Regions from separate parts of the Homo sapiens genome. Here regions 2 and 3 are each linked to region 1. The links are contacts of gene promoters, found by promoter capture Hi-C in blood cells and fetal thymus (Javierre and others, 2016). All regions are on one chromosome and are shown on one strand. Each heading gives the region's core, a stretch centred on a gene start or on the middle of the fragment in contact. The rest is flanking DNA. Distances are from core to core; before and after follow the strand shown.

Region 1 (3,475 bases), core at 119-2,618:
TAAAAATGATAAAGATGATAAACTTCATATTATGTGTATTTTACAATTAAAAACAAGAAGATGAGCATGGGCCAGCTCATCAGGAGTCTTTTATGCAATGCCTGAGACATCATCTTAAAGACTGGATAGCATCAGGAAAGATTCTGAAGGAGACTCAGGGGTTAAAAGAGAATTCCCTATATCTCAGGACAATGCAGACAGTAGGACAATTGAGAGAGTAAGAATAGAGTTTTGCACAAAACAGGCACTCAATGAATACTGGTGGAATAAAATATCCTCCACTACTACCAATTTATCTTAGGAGAGAAAAGCAAGAACTGTTTTCCAAGACAACGCTGAAACGAATGCGCCCAATCTTTGAGGACTCCGCCTTTGCCCAACAGCTCCTCATTTCTGCTGTGGGCATACGGAGGGCGCTCATTCTCGGGGACAGTTCCCAAGGTACCCCCGCCTTCCATGGCCACACCCCACCACGCCCTGTCCAATTTGCCACCAAATCCCTATCCCTGCTCCAAAAGGCAATCAAATCTCCACCTCCAGTCACTAGGTGGATGACTTAGTGCCACCACTAAATTCTCTTGAGCCAGACTCCTCCGGGAGGTAAAGGAGGGTGGGATGATAATACTCGCCTCTCCCAGCAGCCGTGAGACAGAGGTAATGTACTCACTACCTGGCAGAAAGAGAGTGTTCCCCAACCTGGTTGCTCCCTTGGATACTGAAGGCATCACGCTGTACTGAGATTCTCTCTACACCTGTCTCCCACCCTACCCACCCCAAGAATGTGGGCTCCTGGACGCGAGGATCCATCTCTCCGGGACCTGGAACAGCTGACTTCGCCCGCCAGGCCTCTGGGAAACCCTGGCCGAGGGCTGCTCGAATGCCTCTAGGAACCAGGATTAACGGAAACGAGGCTGACAGCGGGGCACTAGGAACTCCCAGTGTGAGGTTCGCCGCCGCCACCCACAGCCAGAAGAGTCCAGGGTTGCCCGGTGTTTCTCCCAACCCCCTAGAACCCAGAAAGTCTGATTTTGGGGTAAAGCGTCGTACCTTTTAGACGCTAACAACTATCTCAAAAAAGCTTACGGACCAACCAAGACGCTACTACGGCCTTCAGTCGCCCAGTTGAGACCCCTGTACCTACGCCAGACCCGCCGGGGGACTGGGGCGGCATCCCCACCGGCCCTTGGGAGGCCAGGCAGCCACTTACGAAGGATGAGAAGGACGGGAGGAGGATCCTAAGAACATTGCATCCAAACACGAAGCTGAGCACCAGCAACCACGCCCAGTGGTCGGCCGCGGCTGAGCTCATCCCGGACGCTCCTGGCTGTGCTGGGTCCGCTACGGCAGCTCCATGGGGACCACAACAACAGCGGCGACCGCGCCTGCGCGGTGAAGCCAAGCGCCCCAGAACAGGCGCGCCGACGCGCCTGCGAACTGCGTCGCCCTCGCGGGAGGCGGGGCCGTTTTTTCGTCCGGCTCCAGTTGGAGCGGTTAACACGTTCCGGGTTTCTCCTGGGCCTTCGGCGGTTCCGTAGCCTTCTAGCACCCATCCCTACTGAACCAGTTTTCTGACGTCCGTGTTTCTTTTTTTCCTTCTTTTTAAAATTAAAAACCTTCTCATAGTACCAAACTCTGGTTTCAAGTGCTAACGACTCCCTGCTTTTGTCATAATTAGTACTTTCTTTAAATTAACTTTTAATTCTAGATAAGTTTAAGAAAAACTCTTCCATAAATAGAAAACTACCGTTTTTATAGTAGCAGGTAACTGTCGTGTTCCAAGCAGTTACATGGAAAATGCCTTACGTTTTCGTTCCAGATCTAAACACTGTAGTAAGTCTAACCAATTTACACAACTGCATACCTGAAAAATAAGTTTAATAGAATGCACTGTTCACAATCATTAGTAATAGTTAATAAATTAACCTGAATCTAGGTGAAGATCAGGTTTTGCAGCGAAAGAATCCCAACTCAAATGTATGCAAAGTGAGCAGGGCGAGGTGGCTCACGCCTGTAATCCCAGCACTTTGAGAGGCCGAGGCGGGCAGGTCATGAGGTCAAGAGATTGAAACCAGCCTGGCCAACATGGTGAAACCCCGTCTCTACGATACAAAAATTAGCCGGGCGTGGTGGCGCGCGCCTGTAGTCCCAGCTACTCCGGAGGCTGAGGCAGGAGAATCGCTTGAACCCGGAAGACGGAGGTTGCAGTTAGCCAAGATCGCGCCACTGCACTCCAGCTCTGGCGACAGAGCGAGACTCCGTCTCAAAAAAAAAAAAAAGTATGCCTAGTGGATAAAGCAAGACATGTTCAACTGTCTCTTCTGCCATGCTGCCATGACTGGTTTCTGAGGACTAATTCCTAATCAAAATGATGCAAGATTGCGGGTACACTGGCTCACGCCTGTAATCCCAGCACTTTGGGAGATCCAAGCAAGGTGGATCACAGGCCCAGGAGTTTGAAACCAGTCTGGGTAACATAGTGAGATCCCCATCTCTACAATAAAATATAAAAATTAGCCGGGCACTGTGGCACGTGCCTGTGGCCTCAGCTACTAGGGAGGCTGAGATGAGAGGATCGCCTGAGCCTGGGAGGTCGAGGCTGCAGTGAGCTGTGATCACACCACTGGACTCCAGCCTGGGCGACAGAGCACAACTCTGGCTCATTATTATGAACCAGTTAAAATAATTATGCGGCTGGGCACAGTGGCTCAAGCCTGTAATCCCAGCACTCTGGGAAGCCGAGGCAGGTGGACCACCTAAGGTCAGGAGTTCGAGACCAGCCTGACCAACATGGCAAAACCCTGTCTCTATTAAAAATACAAAAATTAGCTGGGTGTGGTGGCGGGCACCTGTAGTCCCAGCTACTCAGGAGGCAGAAGAAGGAGAATCGCTTGAACCTGGGAGGCGGAGGTTGCAGTGAGTTGAGATCGCACCATTGCACTCCAGCCTGGGTGACAAGAGTGAAACTCTGTCAAGAAAGAAAGAAAGAGAGAAAGAGAAAGAGAAAAAGAAAGAAAGAAAGAAAGAAAGAGAGAGAGAGAGACAGAAAGAAAGAAAGAAAGAAAGAAAGAAAGAAAGAAAGAAAGAAAGAAAGAAAGAAAGAAAGAAAGAAAGGGAAAGGAAAGGAAAGAAAGAGAGAAAGAAAGAGAAAAAGAAAAAGAAAAGAAAAGAAAGAGGCTGTGGTTCTACAAATTTCTGTGTCAAGAAAACATGTGAAGCAAAACTATTCTGTAGTGGTAGAGTGAATTCCTTCCCTGAAAGGACTTATTGGTTAAGTGACTTCTGAACTGACCAAAACAAAGAGCAGGAGTCTGGCTCTCCTCCATAGCCTTCCCTTCCACCTGGATGGACCACGCAGCACGGCAGCCAGGCTCCTGGCTCCTCTCTCACTGGAGATTGAGATGGATTTAGAAGGAGAAACTGCCTCTTGAAAAGTGATGACAGGCCAAGCATGGTGGCTCATGCCTGTAATCCCAGT
Region 2 (3,656 bases), core at 811-3,310, 600 kb after region 1:
ACTTACACATTTTTTGCAAATGTAATGGAATTTGTATGTATGCAAAATTCAGTTAATGAGTTGAGATAAGGTTACATTTTGTAGACATTTGATGAACCTATTTTAACTTCCTGATGTTTCTTTCTTGTCTAGGCTTTCAAATATTTTCATAGGCGCTAGAAAAGCTATAGGCTCAAAGCAACAGCCCTGATGCCCAGTGGAGAAGCTAGCCTTACAGAAAGTGTTCTTTTCATTTCTTTTCTATTATTCACAAATTCCTTTCCATATCATTCTTTCAACCTTCTTATTAGAATTGACTTTCAAGTTGATATATTAGTTTCCAAAAGAGGAAGATTCTCCCAGCCTTAATTAATGAAGAACTTACATTTCATTCCTCAAATACATGACTTCTGTCAGGATACTTCTGTACCCACCATGGATGTTATTTAGCTAGCTAAAGGGATAATGGTATGGTTACATTGAAAGAATAGACAAATCTTTACCATTCAGCTGTGCAAAAGTTATTTATAAGACATAGAAGATATACGCTACATACCCTAGTAAATGTGATCGTATAAAATAAAGGAGAACAGGCTGGGCATGGTGGCTCACGCCTATAATCCCAGCACTTTGGGAGGCCAAGGTGGGCAGATCACCTGGGGTCAGGAGCTTGAGTCTATCCTGACCAAAATGGAGAAACCCTGTCTCTACTAAAAAAATACAAAATTAGCCGGGCATGGTAGTGCATGCCTGTAATCCCAGCTACTCGAGAGGCTGAGGCAGGAGAATCGCTTGAACCTGGGAGGCAGACATTGCAGTGAGCCGATATCGCACCATTGCACTCCAGCCTGGGCAACAAGAGCAAAACTCCATCTGAAAAAAATAAAAATAATAAATAATGAAGGAGAACAAACCAGATGCTGATAGAATTCAGAAAAGGGGTGTTCAGGGAAGTGTATCTTGGAGGAGGTGGATCTGCCATTGAAATGAAAGGGTAGGCAGGATTTCAACAGGCAGAAGAGTGAGATCAGATTGAGATTTCAGATGGAGAAAGGAGCATCAGCAAGGAGAGATATGCTGGTTTTCTACTGCTGCCAAAACAAATGAACAGACATTTGCTGGGTTAAAACAACACAAGATTATCTTACAGTTCTGGAGGTCAGAGGTCTAATACAGATCTTGCCAGGCTAAAATCTAGGTGTTGGCAGGGTTGCATTCCTTTCTGGAGGCTCCAGGTAGAAATGCATTTCTTGCCTTTTTCAGCTTCTAAGGCTGCCCATTCCTTGGCTTGTGGCCCCATCCTCCATCTTCAATGCCAGCAACGGTTGGTTGAGTCTTTCCTGCATCTCATCGATTTGACACTGACTCTTTCAGTTTCCCCCTTCCACATGTAAAGATCCTTGTGTTTACATGGGTTCCCACCTGGAGAATCTAGGATAATTGTATTAGGCCATTCTTGCATTGCTCTAAAGAAATACCTAAGCCTGGGTAATTTATAAAGAAAAGAGGTTTATTTGGCTCACGGTTCTGCAGGCTATGTAGGAAGCATAGTGACTGTATCTGGTTGGCTTCTGGGGAGGCCTCAGGAAGCTTCCAATCAGGGTGGAAGAAGATGGAGCAGGCATCTCATATGGTGAGAATGAGGGCAAGAGAGAGCAAGTAGGGGGAAGGTGCCACACACTTAAAAACCAGATCTCCTGAGAATTCACTCATTATCACAACAGCACCAAGCCATGAAGGATCCGCCCCCATGACCCAATCACCTCCCACCAGGCCCCATTTCCAACACTGGGGATTACAATTCAACATGAGATTTGACAGGGACATATATTCAAGCTGTATCAATGATCTCATCATTTCAAAGTCAGCCGATTAGCAACATTAAATCTATCTGCTACCTTAATTCCCCCTTGCTATGTAAGGAAATATATTTACAGGTTCCTAAGATTAAGATGTGGACATCTTTGGACAGCCATTATTCTGCCTTCTAGAAGAGGGAAGCATGAAGTAACAAGTTTACTTAGGTGTCCAGTACTGACTCCCCAAAAACATCACCCCAACAACCTGCTGGTCAGGCAAAGCTGAGTTTACTGCTTCCCATGGTAAGCAACACAACTATCTCAACAAAGTCTGCATAGTATTTTCTGTGAGTATGACAAAGTTGGGCTATTTGTAAGGTTTAGGGGGTTTGGCAGGTCTTTCAATGGGGAAAGAAGTTTGAATAGGATTAAGGATCATGATATAATGGTTCAGGATTGGTGAAGACAGCAAGGTGAGGGTTTTAAGGCAGGGTTCTCAGAAGTGTATTGGAGAGTAAATAATCCTTGATACTAGTTATTGAAGAGTTGAGTAGTTTGATAATCACTTAAATTAGTTTTTCTGGGAAGTTCCTGAAACAATACAATTAGTAACTTTTATTTCCTGGGCAACGATTTCTTAGAATAGTAAAGTCATATTAGAGAGGGCAACTTAATAGTGAAGTTCTGCCAACGCAGACAGGAAAGCATGTGGGTGTTGGTGGTTTCTGCTCGAGTGATAGACTGAGGCCATAGAAGGCTTTCGACCAAGCTTGTCCAACCCACAGCACACAGACCACATGTGGCCCAATACTTTTTTAAGATATTATGATATTTTTTTGTGTGACTATTTTTTTTTTAGCTCATCAGCCGTTGTTAGTGTTAATATATTTTACATGTGATCCAAGACAATTCTTCTTCTGATGTTGCCCAGGGAAGCCAAAAAGAGCTATATGCTATTTTAAGGAATTTGAATTTTATTTGGATGAAATGTACATAACCACTTGCATGAGAGGAAGACCCTGGCAGCAGGTTGGAATGGAGACAAGATTGGAGCCTGGAGGCTTATGAGGTGGATATTGAAATGGTTCAGGCAAGAGGAATTGAGGACTTCAACCAGAGAGAGATTGCAGCATTTACTGCTTATTTGCTCATTCATCCAGAAAATACTCTACCAGTTTCATCTGTGTGATGCACTGTCATCCACGCTGGGGTTCTTGGGGACCAATATGGGCAAGGATGTGTTTTGTGGCACTTAAGGAGAGCTCACACTACACACACATGAAGAATGACTGATTTCATGACTCTGTTGAAAGACCTTCTGAGTCCAAGACTCTGATTTTTTGGCAGGTTAAAGTCTCATCAGCTTCAAATTTGAAATTGTCTGCATTCATTTCTTCTGGCCATGGTAACAAATGACAACAAGCATAGTGGTTTAAAACAACACAAATATATGATCTTACAATTTTAGAGGTCAGAATTCCTAAAAGCAAGGTATCTGCAAGGCTGCATGCCTTCTGGAGGCTCCAGCAGAGAATTCATTTCTTTGCCCTTCCCAGCTTCTACAGGTACCTGCATCCTTTGGCTCAGGGCCCCCCTTCATCTTCAAGCAGTATAGCATCTTGAACTCTCTCTCCCCAACCTCTGCTTTCATTACCTCATCTCTCTCTTTGAGTCTGAGACTTGTCTCTCCCTTCTAAAGATGCTTGTGATTACATTTTGGGAACATCTGAATAATCTAGGATCATCTCCCCACCTCGAGGTCCTGCATTTAATCACATCTGCAAAGTCCCTTTGACCATGTAAGGCCACATATTTACAGGTTTCAGGGATTAGGACTTGGATACCCTTGGAGGGCCATTATTCCACCTACCACACCCT
Region 3 (3,480 bases), core at 828-3,327, 620 kb after region 1:
ACAGGTGGAAAACAACCCAGGCGTCTGTCCAGAGATGCATGAATAAGCAACATGTGGTCTCTTCGTACCATGGACCATTATTCAGCCTTAAAAAGGAATGAAGTACTGACACAGGCTACAACATGGATGAACCTTGAAAACACTATACTAAGTGAAGAAGGCCAGACACAAAAGACCAGAAATTGGCTAGGCGCAGTGGCTCATGCCTGTAATCCCAGCACTTTGGGAGGCTGAGGCGGGCGGATCACCTGAGGCCAGGAGTTTGAGACCAGCCTGGCCAACATGGTGAGACCCCATCTCTACTAAAAATACAAAAAATTAGGCGGGCATGGTAATGGATGCCTGTAATCCCAGCTACTCAGGAGGCTGAGGCAGGAGAATTGCTTGAACCCAGGAGGTGGAGGCTGCAGTGAGCTGAGACCACGCCACTGTACTCCAGTCTGGGCAACAAGAGCAACATTCCATCTTAAAAAAAAAAAAAAAGACCAGAAGTTGTATTATGTCATTTATATGAAATTTCCAGAATAGACAAATCTATAGACATGGAAAAATGGATTAGTGCTTCCCAGGGGCTGGGGAGAGGTGGAGATGGGGGATGAATATTAACAGGTATGGAGCTTCTTATTAAGGTGATAAAAATAGGCTGGGATAAATGATAGTGGTGGTTGCACAGCTGTGTGAATATCCTTAAGAAGGCCAAATTTCATCTTATGTGAACTGTATCTCAGTAAAAATAAAAGTCAAAAGAAACCTGGAGGAAACCAAGACTACACCTACTGTTAACACCTTTAGAGAGATGAGATGAGTTTTCTTCTATGCATCAAGAATGAGAGACCATACAGGAGATCGAGACCATCCTAGCTAACACGGTGAAACCCGTCTCTACTAAAAATACAAAAAATTAGCCGGGCGTGGTGGTGGGCGCCTGTAGTCCCAGCTACTCAGGAGGCTGAGGCAGGAGAATGGCGTGAACCCGGGAGGCGGAGCTCGCAGTGAGCGAGATCGCGCCACTGCACTCCAGCCTGGGCGACAGAGCAAGACTCTGTCTCAAAAGAAAAAAAAAAAAAGTGAGAGACCATAAAAAAGCAACATTTGGAAAATAACAAGCACTGGGCAAGCTTGGGGAAAGTCACATGATAGCCAAAATGAAAGACCCAGTACAAGGATTAGAAGGCATGGCTGGAAAATTGTATTAGAAAATAGAGCAAAGTGAAAAGAGAGAAGAAAAGGGAGAGAATGTATGAAATTGGAGGCCCAGACCAGGAAATGCAGCTTCCAGATGAATTCCAGGAGGAGAGAACAGAGAAGCTGGTAAGTCTTTAAAATACAATTCAAGAAACTTTTCCAGAAATGAATAACACCAGCTTGCAGGTCTAAAGGGCCTAGTACAAGAGATAAAAATAGACCTACACGAAGCCTCGTTGCTGTGCAATTTCAGAGCAGTGAGGACAGGAAGAAGATTTTACAAGCTTCCAGGGAGAAGAAAAAAGGCAACACATGAAGACTCAGGACTCAGAATGGCTGTAGCTTTCCCTGCAGCCGCTCTGGGAATGACAAGAGGATGGGGCTTTCTGCAGGAAGGTGGTTTTCGACCTGGGCTTCTACACCTATAGAAACTATCAATCCAGTGCACAGGCAGAATAAAGGCATTTTCGGAAATGTTGAGGTGTCAATTAGAAGTTACAGGTTAGGCCAGGCGTGGTGGCCCACACCTGTAATCCCAGTTCTTTGGGAGACTGAGGTGGGAGAATTGCTTGAGGCCAGGAGTTCAAGACCAGCCTGGGCAACATAGCAAGACCCCATCTCTATTAGAAAAATAAATAAAATTAGCTGTGTGAGGTGGTGCATGCCTGTAGTCCCAGCTACTCGCGAGGCTGAGGTGGGAGGATCACCTGAGCCCAGGAGTTTGAGGCTGCAGTGAGCTGTGTTCATGCCACTGCAATCCTGCCTGAGCGACAGAGCGAGACCTTGTCTCCAAAAAAAAAAGTAACAGGTTAAATATTCATCTTGCAACAAGGATTGATCTTGAAAACTATCCAAAAGGAAAAGAGTCAAATCATGACGAGATAAATAGCATGAGTTACGTAAATTAAAAGCGTTTACGTGAAACACAGTAGGCACTTTGCAGATGGTTGGCAAACATATCCCCCTGGAGTGAAAGAAGGAGAAAGGGAGAGGGAAGATGATGAAAATAGGAGGGAAAGTGAGGAGGAATGAGAGGAGCAGGGAGTGAGCAGGTGGCCTGTGTGCCTTCTACCAAAATCATCACAGAATATGAGGTCAGCTTTGCAGAATCCGAAGAACTTTCATCGAAATAGCAAAAGCCCCATTCTGCCCTCAGAGAACTTACCTTAATGTATTAGTGTGCTAGGGCTTCCATAATAAAGTACCATAGGGTAGGCGGCTTCAACAACATTTATTTTCTCCGTCCTGGAAGCTAGAAGTCTGGGATCCAGGTGTGAGCAGGGTTCGTTCCTTCTGAGCCTCCCTCCTTGGCTTACAGACGGCCGCCTTCTCCCTGTGTCCTTACATGGTCATGTCTGTGTTCTAATCTCCTCTTCCTGTTAGGACACCAGTCAGATCGGATTAGGGCCCACGCTAATGACTTCACTGCATCTTAATTATCTCTTGAAAGACTATCTCTGAATAAAGACATGCTTTGAAGTACTGGGGGTTAAAGCTTCAACAGATGAGCTTGGGGGGAACACAGTTCAGCCCCTTCCAAACAGGTGGATAGACAGCTGTCAGAGATTGGGTTTCCTCATCTCTAACATGTACACGAGAACACCACCTAGCTCTCAGAGGTGTCTGAGAATCAGGTGAGAGCCAGCTGGAAAGGGCACGTGAGAGAGCACTGCCAGCAGCGAAGCACCCAACAGGCCTCAATTCTTATTTCTGCAGGTCGAAGCCCAGATCTCCAACTCAGACCTCCATTTGATGCATTGTTTGATCTTATTAAAGCTGTAAGTTCCCAGAACCATTTCCCACTTTGCAGCAAAAGCCACGTTAGCAGAGTCTTATCGTAACATGCCTGTCCATGATGCCATTTCATGATTTGTTGTTTTGAACGGATTGAGCTGAATCATTCGGATTGGCACTGTTTTCTCTTTCTGGGTCTGACTGGAGAGTCTGGCCAGGGTCTAATCAGTTGAATTCCGGTTAAGAAAGGACCTAGTCTCTTCTCCCTACAACTCTTCTTAAGATGCTTTTATCCCAAGAAAAATGGGCTTTTTATTTAATATAAACAGAAGCACACGTGAAAGTTTGAGCCTTTTTGCAAGTGTGAAACAAAGACTTCTATTTTTATCTTTTGCCAAACTTGACATTTTGTTGTGAGCCCTGGAAGGGGCTCCTTTTTTCAGAAGGGAGAGGCCCTCCCTGCCTGGTCTCCACAGCCTCTCAGGGAATGTGGTGTTTAATGATGAGTTATTAGATAGTCAGAGGCATTTGCGGAGCTGTATGGGAGTGCCAGATCGCCCT

Evidence for each region. Contacts are between HindIII fragments. The CHiCAGO score rates a contact against its expected background, and 5 or more counts as called.
Region 2: a fragment that was not itself captured here is called in contact with the fragment with the promoter of GET1 in region 1 in 1 of 17 cell types (total CD8 T cells); the score reaches 5.6 in total CD8 T cells.
Region 3: a contact is called between a fragment that was not itself captured here and the fragment with the promoter of GET1 in region 1, in 1 of 17 cell types (naive CD8 T cells). The highest score is 5.0, in naive CD8 T cells.

The regions. Positions count from the first base shown.
Region 1 is chr21:39,378,219-39,381,693 of GRCh38, reverse strand. It overlaps GET1 (guided entry of tail-anchored proteins factor 1), which reads right to left and starts at 1,368. Exons shown (of 5, transcript NM_004627.6): 1 at 1,208-1,368. The coding sequence starts at 1,309. GET1-SH3BGR (GET1-SH3BGR readthrough) reads right to left here and starts at 1,368. Exons shown (of 14, transcript NR_146618.2): 1 at 1,208-1,368. The HindIII fragment of the contact is 3,691 bases long and covers 1,081-3,475 here.
Region 2 is chr21:38,776,571-38,780,226 of GRCh38, reverse strand. No RefSeq gene overlaps it. Among named protein-coding and RNA genes, the nearest start is that of LINC00114, 4.9 kb to the right of the region's middle. The HindIII fragment of the contact is 978 bases long and covers 1,572-2,549 here.
Region 3 is chr21:38,759,686-38,763,165 of GRCh38, reverse strand. All of the region lies in intron 1 of LINC00114 (long intergenic non-protein coding RNA 114), which reads left to right. Among named protein-coding and RNA genes, the nearest start is that of LINC00114, 12 kb to the left of the region's middle. The HindIII fragment of the contact is 1,211 bases long and covers 1,472-2,682 here.